Linked DNA regions of Homo sapiens: region 2 is linked to region 1. The links are contacts of gene promoters, found by promoter capture Hi-C in blood cells and fetal thymus (Javierre and others, 2016). All regions are on one chromosome and are shown on one strand. Each heading gives the region's core, a stretch centred on a gene start or on the middle of the fragment in contact. The rest is flanking DNA. Distances are from core to core; before and after follow the strand shown. Region 1 holds the start of ZBTB47 (zinc finger and BTB domain containing 47). Region 2 overlaps CCDC13 (coiled-coil domain containing 13).

Region 1 (7,935 bases), core at 3,032-5,531:
AAAGGGGATGAAAGAGAGACCACAGTGACCAACCATCCAGGTTTGCCAGGGACCTGGGCATTTTCTGGGGTGCAGGGCTTTCAGTGCTAGAACCAGGACCATCGCAGGCACACCGGGACCAGGTGGTCACCCCAGGAGGGCCACAGGCATTCCTTCAGCATTTCCTCAGCCCCGTGGATTCTCTCCACATATTCACTCACACATACCAATAAAAGCAAGCTTGCCCAGCCCCAAACACCTCAAGAACAGAAGCCGGGCTCACTGCTCACTGCCCAGTCTCTGGCTACAGAATCCAAGGGGTAGCACCTGAGGGAACCCCTCATCGCAACAGCCATGTGGCTGCTGCAGAAGTTGAAACCTGTGAAGAAATCCAGGCTCAGGGCCTATACCTTCTCCCCACTCTGGTCCTGCTGCACTGCCTGGTGAGGTCTCCTCATCACAGCCAGGGCTTGGGCCAGGCTGCCCCCAACCCCTGCCTGCAGCCTCAGGCCTAGCCCCCAGCAGCTCTCTCTCACTCAGGGGCTCTGCAGGGGTGGAAGGACACAGCTGTGGAACCTGCCTACCATGCTTGCAGGCAGGAGGCCCCCAAGGCCTGCCCCAGATCCTTTTCCCGGTAGACCCCCAGACCCCAGGTCAGGTACGGTCCATGTCCACAGGCTCTGGGAAAGCCCTGCCTTAGAGGCCACACCATCTGGGGCTTCCAGAGCCCTAGCGGAGGCCCTCAATGTCTGATGGGTCAGACTATCAGGCCTGTGGGCCACATCCAGCACCTGTGAATTGCCTGGAATAGAAGCCAACTCAGTCACCCCGGCTCTACCACAGCAGCCTCCCCAAAAGGTGGGCAGCACAGACAGGCAGCCTGCCCAGTCCCTGCACGAGAACCATCACACAGTGATGTGCAGATGTTGTTAATATCCACCAACCACCAGCCCAGCTGGACCAGCACCACTGGTTCCAAGTTCTGGCTCTCCTCAGGGCCTGCCCAACCAGGTCTGAGCCTCCTGCATTCGGGAGGTACCTTGCCACAATATTTTGATGGCCACAAAACCATCAGCTCCATAGCTGTCAGTGCCTCCCTGGGGACCCTGGGATGAATCCTGGCCCCATCCATCCACAGCCTACCGCCCCCCTTCCCCATGCCAGGCCTTCCATCGCCAGGAGAGCAGTGGGTAGGCTGGGATTGGGCAGGGGTGGTGGTGGTTGAGCTCCACTTCTCAGTCACCTGAATGAGAAACCTACCGTGGGCCTCAGCAGGAGCCTCCCTGAGCCACCAGGGGCCACCTGTCTCCAGGCCTGCCCTGGACCCTGCCCCCTACACCCAGCAGCCAGGGCAGCAGCCATCCTGTGTTCCCTCACATCCCAGTCTGGCCAGGCCCCTGGCCAAGGCTACCATCTTCCTTGAGTTCTCCACTACACCCCTTACCCCAGCCAAGAAGCCATCCATCTCCCTCTGTCCCAGGCTGTCCAGGCCTGGCCAATCTAACTGGGACGTGGCACCAAGCCCCTCCCATCTCCCTCCTCTGACTCATTCTGATTCATCTTCTGGGACCAACCCCTACTACACAGATGGAGAAACCGAGGCTCAGAATGAGAGGGTTCCACAGTCCAGAGCCCCTGGACTCCCAGCTCCGCTAAGACCACCCCTTCCTTGCTAGACCCCACATGGCTGGATTTCTGAGCCTTTAATGACTTAAAAAGCGAGAACATCCCGCCACCTGGAGACCAGCCGTGCTTCCCCACACTCACCACTATCCCCTCTACCTGCTCCCTCCTCCCTAGAGCCACTGCACCTGCAGGTCAGTGAAGGATCAGGGTACAACTTGGGTTGCAACAGGGGCTCCTTAGGGCCTCCAGGGGCCAAAGACTGGCAGGAGAAGTGGCTTGGATAAGGGTTTGCTGAAGCCAGGCCTGTTGGGGGAAGTCCACCCCAGGCAACAGAGCCCCAGATCTCTCTGCTCTCCCTTTATGGAATGCCCTCCACTGCCCACCTGTGCCCACCTGCCACAGGGAAAGGGCAACCTTCCCATGTGCACTTTGGCCTCTAGGCCAAATGAGGCCTGACTTTGGCCCTCTGGCCTCTCAGCAGGAAAGGAGGGGAGTGCTTTCTCAAACACTCCATTGCTAAGGTAGTACTCTCAGCCAAGGCAGCACCATCCTTGGCCCTTGGGGGGCCCTAAACCTCATGACCTGATTGGACTCTCTTGACTGGGCACAGAGATGCTGCCCGAGTCCACAATTGGCAGCCCCTCAGCAGGGTTCAGCCACCCCCATGTCTGGCCCCTCCCACACAATGCCCACCAGCTGTGCTGGCCTCCACAGCCAGATGTGCTGGTTCCCGGAAGCAATGCGTGCCCCTCCCCATCCGGCTGTGCCAGCTGCAGTCCAGGTCACTCCAGCCTAGCTAAGATGCAGGACCAGGGAGGTGGTCAGGCACTCTGGTTGCCAGGGGGTTTCATGCCCTCAAACCCTTGCCCCAAGTCAGGCTGGGGATTGGCCAGGTGCCAGACATCTCTCCAGGCTGCTCACCCAAGTCAGAGCCTTCTACACCTGAGGGGTACCTTGCCTCACTGATGAGAAGCCTCATCTCTCTACCCTGCCTCAGAGCCTCCCTGGAAGGCCCCATGATGAAACCTGGGGAGTCCATCTGCGCCCCCCTCCCATGTCAATTCTTTCTATGCTGGGCAGCAGTGGGGGGGCCCAGACTGAGCAAGGGGGCACAGGCTCATGACCTCTAGGCTCCTCCTTTTGGTGAGGGAGTGTCCATGCCAGCCTCCTCTGTGCACTTACCTCCCCTCTTTCCCTTGGAAATAGACCCAGAGAGGGCGGGGGATCTGCCCAAGGTCACACAGGAGTTGGTACGGGAGCTCTGGGTGTCCTCCCACACCCCCTTGGCCCGGGTCATCCCGAATCCCCAGGCAGGGCGGCTCCAGCGCCCACGTGGCCCAAGGCCCAGGCGGGAATCCGACTCCCTCTTCCCCCCATTACCCAGCCCGAGGGCGGCGCCGTCCGGGCGCAGGGGAGCGCCCCCCTTCGCCGGTGCCTAGCAAGACCTCAGCCTCGCGCGCCGGCGCCCCCACCACAGGAATTTAACCCCCTCCCCACCGAGAGCAGCGCCACAGCGCCGCATTCCCGGCCCGCGGGACCCAGCAGATGGAGCCGGGAGACCGGGGGAGGGGGGAAGATCCCTCCAGCCCCTCCACCCGGGCCCGCGGGCCGTGTGCCTGGGAGGTCAGAGCTGGCAGGTGGGCGGATAAGCGGGGGGACAGGCAGGGCCCTGCGTACCATGGTGCCGTGGCGCTGGGGGCTCACAGGGCCCCGCGGGATCGCGCTGCCCCCGGCGGCCAGGCCAGGGCCGCTCCATGAAGCGCCGCGCTGGGGGCCGCCCCCGCGCAGGGCCCCGCGACCATGGCCCCCGGGGGCGCGGCCAGGCAGGCGGAGGCGCAGGGCCGCGGCGAGTCCAGCGCCAAGCAGCTGCGGCCCCAGAGCCTCGGGCGCGGCGGGCGGGGGGCGCGGGGCGCCGATTGGAGCCCGCGCGTCAGCTGGGGCCGCCGTCTGGACGCTTAAAGGGCCAGGCCGCCTGCGTGCCGGCGGGGGGCGCGGACACGCGTGGTGTGCGCGGTCCCCGTGCAGCCCGCCCTGCCGCAGGCTGCCCTCCACCCCCAGCCCCAGCTCCAGCCCCCAGCCCGTCCCCACTGCTCATATCCGAGCAGATAGACCCCGGCCCCACCCTCCCGTGCTGAGCCTCCTTTCTGCCGGGAAGTTCGTCCGGGAGTCAAACATCGCTGCCCTCCGGTTGCGCCACGGAGGGGGAGCCAGGATAGGAAGCTGCCGTGAAATCAGGAAGCTGAGCGCGCCGGGCCCCGGATCCGAACAGAAAAGGCTTCCACCCGCTCCCCTGAGGGATCCCACGCTGAGGGACTGAACCCCGCACCCCAGCCGCGCTCACCACCCCCACCCTCTCGCCTGGGCTGCTCTGACCTGGGGGTGAGTCTGGGGTCCCCAACTGGTCCAGTCCCCCATCCCTATCCCAGGGCGGCGCAGGGCTCATTTTGCTCTGTGCCTCCAGGACTTGGCTCCAGTGGACCCATACCTACCTGGCGGCCTCATGCTGCATAGGGCCACCCAGGGCAGGAGATTTAAATCCCAGGACTACAACCGCAGCGATCAAATCATCTAAGGTGACTGGCCCAGGGCCAGGAGACAGAGGGACCAGAGGAGTAGGGACCAGAGGCCCAGGCCCCACTGTGCCCCTCTAGCCGTGTGACCTGACCACTGCTGAGTGGCCCCCTTGCTCAGCCTCTGCTGGGGAGATGCAGCCAGGCTTGCGGAATGCTGCTCTGGCATGGACACCCGTGGGGGCAGGGGGCTGGCTCTGTTGGCAGGAGGCTGTAAAGGAAGGCTGCCAGGCTGAGCAGGCAGCAGGGTGGGGACCACGGGGCACTAGACCTGGCAAGGTCTGGATGGTGACTGGGCCACCATTGTAGAGGAGAGGCCTCTGTGGACATCCCCTCCTCCTACCCCAAGCTCACTACTGCCCATCCTGGGTCACTCTCATGTTGCCCCCATCCTGATATTCCACACCCCTCCCCACATATGTGCGCTTGTGTTTACATACAAGTCCATGTCCAGCTGCAGCAGTATCTCCTGGGTATGTTGTCCTACTCACGAGTGGGCAGGAACTCTGGCGCTGGCTCAGGGTGACTTGGTTCTAGGTGCCAGAGGAGAAATGGAGGAGAGACCAGGGTATTAGGCAGGTGCTGTGAAACAGCCTGATGGTCTGTCCTGTAAGATTGCAAGGGCCTCCTCCCCCACCCCCACTCTCTGCCAGAATACGTAGGGCCTCAGGATAAGGCTATCCCAGAGCTAGGGAGAAAATGTCTCAGGGGCCAAACCTGGGGCATCTGGAAGCCCCTGGCAGCTGCTGCAGACATCCTGTACCTGCATGGGTGCACAGACAGCTGGCCCAGCTCCCAGAGGCCCCAGGTTAAGGCCAGGCCAGAGCAGCTTACATGCTTCTGACCAGCTAGCCCGCTGAGGGCTGCCTTCTGCCTCTTCCTCCCCAGCCCACTTCCTCATCTGACTCACAGTGGATCCTAGCACCGGCCCAGGAGTTAGTTAGGGAGGGGCTGTGTGCCCATTGGTTGGATAAGGACTCTGAGGCTCAGAGCGGGACAAATCACTTAGGCATCAGCATCAGGAGCCAGGGGAAGGGGAGGTGGGGAGAAGGGACCCCTCCACGGGCTGGAAGAAGCCTGGCAGAGAGAGCTGCATGGGACATTGCTAGGCCCACTGCCAAGCCAAAGCTTGACAGAGGGTGTGGCCAGCGTGACTGAGGTAGTGATGCTGGCCCTATGGGGCCTTGCTGGGGCCTTAGCTCCAGCAGTCAAGCTGCAGAAAGGGCTGGAGGTTGGGTGAGAAGGGAGGGGACAGGTGGTGGGGAGGCACTCAGTCTCCCTGAAGGCCTCGGCTGTTCCCCTCTTGCTTCTCTGGCCTGCAGCTCATCAGCTGGGGAGTCCCAGGGCAGAGCCTGAGCTCTGTGAGCAGCTGTGGGCACCTGGCAACACTGGACCTGGCAGGAAGGAGTGGTTTGAAGAGCTGTCTGGTGGGCCCACAGGGCTGCTCAGAGCTGAGGCTTGAACTTGAACATTAACTAGAGCAATGAGGGAGTGAAAGGGCTTTCCAGACAGAAAGCCTGCAAAGGCCAGGAGGTGGAGACAATTTAGCATCTGCAGGGAACTAGAGGGGATTTGGTGTAGTGGAGTCAAGATTCCTATCGATCAGGAGTTGTCTGGTTGGTGGGAGTGAACAGGTGGAGCTAGGCAGAGGCAGAATTTCTCTCTTGGTCCTGATGAGGGGCATGCAGTAGGAGCTTCACTTCAGGGAGGTCAAGGCAGGCTTTCTGGAGGGAGGGACTGAGTTATTGGGGAGTTGACTCCTGGGCCAGAAATGCATGCCCCAGGGGTGAGTCAGGAGTCTGGAGACGCTCACCCAGCAAGGGCAGAGCTTAGTGATCCTTCACATATTTGGGATTGGGTCCTGACAAGGTCAGCAAAGCTATGCCCCTGCCTCTAGAAGACAGCTCATGGGTTTTCTCTCAATTTCCCTAAGTATCTACCCTCAGTGCTGGAGTGTCCCCAGGCTTAGTTGGGGAAACCAGATTCAACCCCACTGAAGTTAGAAAGAACAGCCCAGGTTGTGGGTATGCGTATGTGTGTGGGAACAATGCAGGACTGAGTCAGCCCGGAGGGCATGGAGCTGTGTGTAGCTGAGCCTGGGGAAGAGGGAGAGCAGAGTGGGCAATGCCAGAAAAATACAGGCAATGCAACTCAACTCGCACAGCATGTGGCCAGTGGGCTGGCAGGGAAGTTCAAAGCTACCCACTAGGCGCTGATCCGAAGCCCAAAGTTCTAGTAGGGCGGGAAAACATGAATCCCCAGGGTGTGGGGTGGGTTAAGGGTGGAGTTTACACCTGAATTCTGCCTCCACTGAACCCAGCACTAATAGGCTACAGCTGCCCTGGGTTGGGGGCCTCATGCAAACCGGTAGGTTGCCTGGTTCCCTCACAGCATAAACATCATGGCTTTGGCATTTCACGTCTCTCTTGCAGCTTCTAGGATCCTCTCCTGCCCTGTTGGTTCTGGGGGCCTTGGGCCTCTCCCTAGTGAGTGAACCTGGCTCCACACATGAACCCTCTGGGACTCCTTCACTTCTCCTAGAGTCACCACCTCAGGGGCCACCACCTCTGAACCACTGATGTATGCTTGGTTTTCTAAACGTTTAATACACCACAGTTCTAGGAGGAGGAATCCCTAGCATCCATTTTTCAGATGAGCTGAATTATAGAGGTCAAGCAAATTGTCCTCCTTCCAGTTACCCAACTGGGAAGTGGCAGAGTTGAACTTGAACCCAAGCAGCCTGGTTCTGGCCCAGAGACCTTAACGATTGTACCATAGCATAGTTGCTCATAGAAGTCCCCCTGCTTCTTCAAAATAAAACCAAATTAGGCTGGAGGCATTGAGGTCAGTGGGGACTCTTCTTAGGCTTTCTCTGGGAACCTGGCCTGATGGGAGATTTTAGTTGCTAGAGGTCCTAGGTGACCAGAGGCTGGTGAAGTGCCAGCCTATACACCCAACCCCTGTGGGCCAGGTCCACTGGGAGGCAGACTCGTCTGCAGGCTGGGAAGGGATGAGCACCCCTGGTTGTCTCTCATGTCTGAGTGTGCCAGTCATGTATACCCTCTTTCAGGGGTTTATGAGCCATAGGAGGCCCAGGATCAGGGCTCAAGATGCAGAATGCAGGTGTTTGTCCTGAGACCTCAGGTCACTCCATTTGTTGTTTCTCAGACAGGGTCTTGCTTTGTTGCCCAAGCTGGGCAGAGATGCAATCATGGCTCACTGTAGTCTCCACCTCCTAGGCTCAAGTGATCCTCCCACCTCAGCCCTCTGAGTAGCTGGGACTACAGGTGTGCATCAGCATGCCCAGCTGCTTTTTGTTCTGTTCTTGTCTTAATAGTCTTGCTATGTTGTCCAGACTGGTCTTGAACTCTTGGCCTCAAGCAATCCTCCTGCCTAGGCCTCCTAAAGCACTAGAAATATAGGTGGCCACTCCTTTTACCCTGATGTCCTCAAGGCTCTGGGCTGAAGAGATGCAACCCTCTCCAAGCTAGCCTGGGTTCTGCAGGCTGTGAAGCTCAGCTCAGTCTAGGGAGCTGGAGTTTGATGGGCTATAGTAAGTGGTGGGTCTGGGGTCTCCAAGAGGCAGCAGGCCTACCTGGGGCCTTCTGATTCACAGTGAGGAGTGGAGGCAGCAGCAAGGGAGCACTATCTCTACCTTGTACTGAAACTTTGAAAGAAAACAGACCACTAAAGCCTCCTAGCCCTGTGTGTATGTGGCCAGGGCAGGCTCTCCTTGCCTTGCACTTACCAGGCCCCGACA
Region 2 (7,935 bases), core at 3,575-6,074, 73 kb before region 1:
AGCCAGCAGGTAAGAGGGAAGCAGTGATGGGTTGGCTTAGGGCTGGAGAAAATTGAACAAGTCACAAAGCCAAATGCACAGGCTCCAGGAAAGTGGGCTGGGCTTGGGGACCAAGCCAGAAGATGCAGGAGGGCTGGGAGAGACTGGCAGGGACACAGAGACTGGGCACACCTGACACTGGGTAGGGCAGCCAGGCCCCAAAGGCCACACAGATACCCAGGGCACCCCAGGTCCCCAAGAGCCACCTGCCACAGCACCAGACTAATTCCAGGCCCCCACAGGGCTTGGATGGACAGAGGTACCAGTGTAACTCTAGTTCTGGTAGGTTCAGCTTTGGAGCCTAGGGACTTCAGCAGGACCAGGAATGGTGGGCAAAGAAGCCAGCAGGGGAGGACCTAGAGGGACTGGGTTTGCTTCCTTTGCTCTGGCTGACATTCGCCCTGAATGTCCTTCTAGTCCCTCCAACCATCACAGGGGTAAGTGTTATTTCTAGGCCTCGGATGACCTCTGCCCTCTGCCCTCCACCCTGGTCCCAGGTTCTCGGACTCCCCAGAACAAAAAGGCTGGCAGGCACAAGTGTCAGAGATCAAGGCCCTCTGGCAGGCTGCCGAGGTGGAGCGTGACCGGCTCACCGAGTTTGTCACTGTCCTGCAGAAACGGTAACACATGGCACCCAGGGATCTCTCCCATAGGCCTGCATGTGGTGGGGACTGGGGCCAGGCCTCATTTATGACTGGGTCCTCCTCACCTGAGAGCTCGGCTCCCAGTGTTGGTCCAGGGCATTCCTAGCCACAACTCATGCGCCCCACAACCTTGGGGCCTTGTCGTCACACTGTGTTTTGCCCTTAGGAACAGCCCCATTCTACATGCACCCAATGGGACTGTTGTATGGCATGTGGACATTGCTGGGAGTCTCGGGGGAGAGACACCCAGAAGTAAATCAGTCAAATCAATCCATCAATAATTAAAATCTGTGATGAGCCTGGCACTGTGCTTGGTGCTGCTGGAGGGTTTGGTGGGAAGAAAACACAAGCTAGACTGACATCTGGAATTGGAAAGAACAAGAGAGGTGCTGATAGCTGGGGAGGCAGGGAGGGAAGCACGAGGCCTGAGGCACTGGACCAGGAGGTATGGTTTTCTCTAAAGGGTTGTTGACAGACTTCCGTTCAGATAAATCAGTGCTCCTCGCTCAAATGATCCTTTTGGCAAGAATTGCAGGTGTCCAGGCCAACACATGGCTCAACCATGTGACCTCCACACTGAAAAATATTAAGCACACCACTGAGTTTCTGCCCTAACAGGCTATATCATGTATCAGTCAAGGCTCTTTGATGACAGACAATAGAAAGCAATTCTGGCTGAATTCAGTGAAAGGCAGATTTTTGGAAGGTACTGGCAGACTCCAATGCAGAGAGCAGGAGAGGAGCCTGAGAAGGTGCAGGCATCTTTGGTAGCAGGAAACCCTAGGCAGTTCCCTGGGCCACTGAAATGGCATGGCCAAATGGCTTTTAGCTCTTGTGCCCATGGGTTCTGGGAGAGAAGGTTGAACTGGCCAGTGCTGCGCCCGTATCCACCCCACATGTGAGGGCACTCTGACTGAAGTTCCTCCGGGTGCTCACAGAATGCAGGAAAGGTAGTTTGCCAAAGGGAAAATGGGGGTACTGATAGCAAAAGAAGGAGCTAGGGGTGCAGGGAAGGACAAAACAAAGGATGCCTGCTACCTAAATAGTGAGTGGTCAGCTTTGCTTTCACATAGTACATAGAGATGATGTGAATTTCAGACATACTCAAGTATATGAGAAAAGCAACATTGATTCTTTTTCTATAATTGGAATGTAATGGATAGTACAAGTCTTTAGTCTATCAAGTAGTAGAAACATACTCAATGCAGGCTTTCTCTCTCATTTCTCTTGAGTTACATCCGAGTTTGGGGGTGTGTGAAAAAGGTGACTCAGTTAGCTATTGCTGCATAACAAACCATCCCAAACCTAGTGGCTTCAAACACAATGGTTTGTGCTTTCTCACGATTCTGTGGCTTGGCTGGGTAATTCTACCCCACATAATGTCAGCTGGGGTCACTCACTGGTCTCATGCAGCTGGCACTTCAGCAGGGATGCCTCAGTTCTCCTTCATGTGGCTTCTGTCTCCATGTGAGATCTCATTTTCAGGGCCTCTCCACACAGGGCTAGGATTGGGTGAGGCAAGCAGGGCACCTGGGGTATGAAATGTAAAGAGGTGCTCACACCCAGTCACATACATGCAACTCTCTGTCTGCGAATATGCTGGCCCTTTTTGGGTCCTTGGGTTCCTCCTGCTACTCTGTGTCATCCTGGGGTGTTGGGGCTCTGTGAGGCTGTGCCAGGCCCATCAACCAACACCTGTTGCCTTTTTTCCTTGAGGTTATTGCTAAGTCCCTGGGCTGTAACAAGAAAAGGGAACCCAGGTACCTTCTGCACTCAAATTCCCTCAAATCTATTTGGTTTAAAACTAAATGTTTTAAACTAAAACCATTTTGTTATAACTAAATTGGCCAATCATCAAAAATGATGATTCCTTTCAAAACTGATGATTGGCCAATTAAACCAAAGGAACTATTTTAAAGTAAAACTAAACGTTTTAACTAATGTTTTAACTATCCCAAAGTACAGGACCTTCGTTTCTCAGAGATCCTCAATATCTACTCCTTTCTTTATCTGCAGAGTCTGTCCCAGCCTTGCACAGGGGAGGGTGGGGGGGAGTCTTTCTCTGCCTAGCTTCCCTTCTCCTCTACTCTGCCCTACAATTTCCAGCTGCCTCAGTTGCCCTCCCCCACCCAGTTCCCTAATCCTGTGTGCTCATCCCAGCATCCCAGGGTGCTCTGCGTGGCTGCCCCCACCCCACCCTGCAGTGGAAAGTGCCTCAGGCAGAAAGCCAAGGCCAAGGGCGAGCCAAGCTCAAGTCCTTCCTTTCCTCAAGTCTTGTATCCAGTGTGTGTCGTCCTGTTGTCCATTGTCTGAAAACAAGTTCTTTCTTACATTTTATCAATTTTTCTAGTTACTTACAATAGGAGTTGGTTAGTCCACCATGACAAAAGTCACTAAATATGTCTCTTTTTTAAAAAGCACGTAGTCGGCTTTGTTCTTAAATTTAATCTGGGAATTTCTGTGTTTGAACAGTATCGTTTAATCCACTTTGATTTTGGTAATATTTAATCACTTTAATTAATATTTTCTATTTGCCATGATTTTTCTTTGTTCCTTTTTTTCTCCTTTCTTCCCTTATATTGGACTGATCAAGTTTTATTTCTCTTACTTCTTTGCAAGTTTGGAAGTTAGATATTCTATCTCTGTTCTTTTAGTGGTCACCCTTAACTTTTAACATCAAACTCAGCAATCTAAAGTTAGTTGGTTTTGCTACTATCACTTTAAGCAAAAGAATACATTTAGAATGTTTTAACTTTGATTTCTCCGTTTGTGCCTTTCATGTTACTGTTTCCTAATATTTCTCTTCCACATTCTTTTTTTAAACCCTGAAATTAAACCCTCCAAAGTAAGTCTTGAATACTGAATAGTGAATATTCGTTTCCTTTTGCCAACATGTTTGAAAATGTCTTCACTCACTGTTACTTCTTGTATCTCAATCTTCCTTCTAGGTTCACTTTCCTTCTTACTGAGATGCCCTTTAGTTCAGTGAGGCCATGTAAATAGTAAACTCTCTGAGTATTTGTTTATTTTTATTTTATTTATTTATTTATTTATTTTTCTTTTCTTTTTTTGAGACCGAGTCTCTCTCTGTCACCCAGGCTGGCGTGCAGTGGCATGATCTCAGCTTACTGCAACCTCCGCCTCCCAGGTTCAAGTGGTTCTAGTGCCTCAGCCTCCCGAGTAGCTGGGACTACAGGTGTGAGCCACTACGCCCAGCTAATTTTTGTATTTTTAGTAGAGATGGGGTTTCACCATGTTGGCCAGGCTGATTTCGAACTCCTGACCTCAGGTGATCTGCCTGCCTCAGCCTCCCAAAGTGCTGGGAGTAAGGGCATGAGCCACCACGCCTGGCCTGTTTATTTTTAAATGTCTTTATTTTGCCTGTCTTGAATGAGAATTTAAGAGAAATTTGGGCATAGAATTCTAAATAGATGGGTATTTTTTTCTCAGCACTTTCAGGCTATCCTATTGTTTTTTATCATCTACTATTGCTAAAAAGAAATCTGCTATCAGTTTTATTGTCATTCCTTAATAGATTTGTCCTTTCTCTCCGATGCTTCTTCAGATTATTCTCTTTGTCTTTGAAGCTTTGAAATTTCACTGTGATACGTATATACATATACGTATACACACACACATATGTATATATGTAATATGCCCATATATGTATATATGTATATATGTGTGACTTTACATATATGTAAATATATATTTTATATATACATGTAAATATGTGTGTATATTTGTATGTATGTATATGTAAAGTATACATATGTAAATATATGTAAATATGTTATACGTAATTTTATCTACTCAGAAGTTAGTGTTCTTTTTCAATCCAAGGACTTTATATATTCCCAAGGACTGCTGTCCATATATTGCCTCTTCCTCACTCTCCCTATTCTTTTAATCTAAAATTCCTAGTCCATATATGTTAGACTTATTCTTTCCTCCACATCTCTTTACCCTTACTATTTTGGGCTGAATTCTGGGTGATTTCTTCAAATCAGCTTTCTAGATCACTAAATATCTTCAGTTGTGCTTCATCTACCATGAAACCTATTTTGATAACTGTATTTTTCGGTAAAAGCTCCTGTTCTCAGCCAGGCACAGTGGCTCATGCCTGTAATCCCAGCACTTTGGGAGGCCGAGGTGGGTGAATCACCTGAGGTCAGGAATTCAAGACCACCCTGGCCAACGTGGTGAAACCCCATCTCTACTAAGAATCCAAAAATTAGCCAGGTGTGGTGGCAGGCACCTGTAATCCCAGCAACTTGGGAGGCTGAAGCAGAATTGCTTGAACCTGGGAGGCGGAGGTTGCAGTGAGCCAAGATCACGCCACTCCACTCCAGCCTGGGCAAAAAGAGCAAAACACCCCCGTCTCAAAAACAAAACAACAACAACAAAACCCTCTTGTTCTCTTTCTTATAGCATTTGTTCTTTCATTACAATTTTTGCCTTTCTCCTTTAAATAATTTTGAACTTATTCCCTTTAGAGTTTTCTACCATCTTCATTAATTAGGATCCTAAGTAATGTCTGTCGGCTCTCCCCTTGTAGTAAATTATTTCCTTGTGTGGTTTCAATTTTTGTGATTTTATGAGCTTATCTTCAGTGGGGCTTTTTTCCTTGTAGGAGTTCTTAGGTGATGACCGTGTTTCTGTGGAGGTGTTCTGCATTTGTCTCTGTGAAGCTTTTAGGGTTTCAGTGGTCTCTGATTGGTACTTTATGTGAATTTATTGGCTTAGATTCCCTGAACACATGAATGCTGCCCTTGTGTTTCAGTTTCACATGATTGGTGCTTCCTCCCCTCCTCCCCATTTCCCAAGGCCCTGATAGACTGCAGGCTTCCTTACTACTTTCCTGAACTTGTAGATGGATATTATCTTAGTCCTCTTTTTTTTTTTTTTTGAGACAGGGTCTCACTCTGTCACCCAGGCTGGAGTGCAGTGGTGTGATCACAGCTCACTGCAGCCTCAACTTCCCGGGCTCCAGTGATCCTCCCACCTCAGCCTCTGGAGTAGCTGGGACCACAGGCACATGCCAACATGCCTGGCTAATTTTTATATTTTTATAGACTTACATTAAATGCATCTTTACATTTTTATGGGAGTATATCTGTATCACAAATTCCTAAAAAAGAAATGGCTGAATCAAAGAATATGCACATTTAAAATGTTCACAAATCATGACAAATTGCCTTTTAAAATGAATCAATTTACATTCTTACCAATAATGTGAACTGTTTTCCCCATACCCTCACAGTTACTATGTTTTATTAATCTTTAACATTTTTGCCAAACTAACAAGGAAATGCTAATATCTCCTTGTTTTTATCTGCTTTGCTATGACCAAAAGTGAGGATAAGTATATTTTCCACATAACTTTTATGTTTTTTTCTTTTAACTACCTATTCATGCCATTGCACATGTTTTAGAGTTGTTTATATTTTTATTTGACTTATAAAAGAACACTTTATGTATCATATATATGGTATTATGTATATAATGTGTAATATTATGTATGTTTGTCTTCATGAAGATTTTGTGTCATTATGCTAAATTCATTCTTAGCATTCTTAGGTAGGGGGAAACCTCCTTATCTGAGTATTTTTTACCAGCACCCCCACAGTTACAGTCCCCATGAAAGCAAAATTTTTAATATTAAAACAGTCATCATTTGACTATTTAATATTCTTCACTTCACATTGGCATTGGGTCACTTTGGTCAGACTCTTGAAATACAATGAAAATCAATTATGAAGCAAAAAGGTAAATCTTTCAAAATATTTGGAATTTCATGAGATTGATGAACATGAGTTTGGAGAACTATTAGAATCGCAATCAAATACATTGACAAATTAGGATCTAGCTGAGTTAGGCCTGTTAACAACTGAAGAAAATCAGTGAGACCAGAGATTGGTCAAAAGAGAATAATCAGAATACCAAAGTGTGCAAGAGGTCTTGAAGCTTACGGACATCTGTAGATCCCAGGCAGGAGGAGCAGCCTCAGGTCTGGAGAGGGGGCGAGGACAGAGAAAGAGCTGGTTTTGGTGCATATTTGCAGGAAAAGTTGTAGAGCCTGCTGATAGATTGGAAGCTGAAGATGAGGAAGAAAGAGAAGGCAAGGGTGACCCCCGGGTATCTGGGCTGAGCAACTGCATGAGTGAGGATAATATTTATTGAGATGTGGAAGGCACGTTATAGGGGAGAAGGAGAGAAATCAAGAGTTTGCTTATTCCTAAAATTTTGTGGGAATTCACAATGTGGTTTGCTATTTTATATGATGTTTTGCTGTTGGTTTATTATTTCCCCTATTATAAATGGAGTTAAACAAAATGCATACATTATTGAAATTCATAACAGAAAAGTGAAAGCCCCTCCCCCACAGTTGAGTCAATAGCTGCCACATATTCCTTTTTGTTTTCAGTCAAGTGGCTGAATTATATTAACCTTATATTTATTTGTTTTTAAATTTTTAATTTGTTGTAAATTTTTTAATTAGATCATATAGTATGCATAATCTTCTGCTACTTATTTTACTTAGTATATTGCATTTTCATGTCAGTACGTTTTCCTTTTATGGTTACAGAATATTTTATTGTATAAATCCACTGTTATTTATTTACCATTCTTCTATTGATGGGTTATTAGTTTCTGATTTTAAAATACTTTATTGTGTTGTTTCCTTCTATTCTCATTTTACTTTGAGTTTTTAAAGTCAGGAATAGCTACTGATTTTACCAGTGCTTCTTCAGTATCTATTGGAAGGATTACCTGATTTTTTCCTTTAACCTAATTCCGATGTTGAATCTTACAGCTCTAGTGTTCTTGGAACTATGTTGTGTTACTCTCTTACAATGCCATTGAATTTAATGTTCTTTCTTTTTTCCTCTATTTTTACTGTGGTAGGCAGAATTCTAACATTCCCACCCCCGATATACATGCCTTATAAACTTCTCTTCCCTTGAGCGTGGGCAGAACCTGTGAATATGGTAGGATATTATTGCCACAATTATGTTAACTTACATGGCCAAGGGGATTTTGCAGAGCTATTTAAGGTTACTCATCAGATGACTTTGTGTTAATCAAACAGGAGGCTCTCTGAGTGGGCCTGACCTAATCATATGAGTCCTTTTAGTCTGAGTCTAGCTGTCAGAGACAGAGGAAGCCAGAGTGGAAGCAGTATTTTCTTGCTGGCCTTGAAGACATTCTCCTGCAAACTGTTACAGGAAAGGGAGTTTTGATCCAGACC

What was found. Contacts are between HindIII fragments. The CHiCAGO score rates a contact against its expected background, and 5 or more counts as called.
Region 2: a contact is called between a fragment that was not itself captured here and the fragment with the promoter of ZBTB47 in region 1, in 1 of 17 cell types (M0 macrophages). The highest score is 5.7, in M0 macrophages.

The regions. Positions count from the first base shown.
Region 1 is chr3:42,650,043-42,657,977 of GRCh38, reverse strand. ZBTB47 (zinc finger and BTB domain containing 47) reads right to left here and starts at 4,281. Exons shown (of 6, transcript NM_145166.4): 1 at 4,095-4,281. ZBTB47-AS1 (ZBTB47 and NKTR antisense RNA 1) reads left to right here and starts at 3,590. Exons shown (of 3, transcript NR_125400.1): 1 at 3,590-3,984. RefSeq lists enhancers at 1,307-1,601, 3,666-4,307 and silencers at 3,181-3,260, 3,301-3,660. The HindIII fragment of the contact is 5,084 bases long and covers 222-5,305 here.
Region 2 is chr3:42,723,191-42,731,125 of GRCh38, reverse strand. It overlaps CCDC13 (coiled-coil domain containing 13), which reads left to right. Exons shown (of 16, transcript NM_144719.4): 13 at 537-659. Among named protein-coding and RNA genes, the nearest start is that of CCDC13-AS1, 5.4 kb to the left of the region's middle. RefSeq lists an enhancer at 182-681. The HindIII fragment of the contact is 1,104 bases long and covers 4,273-5,376 here.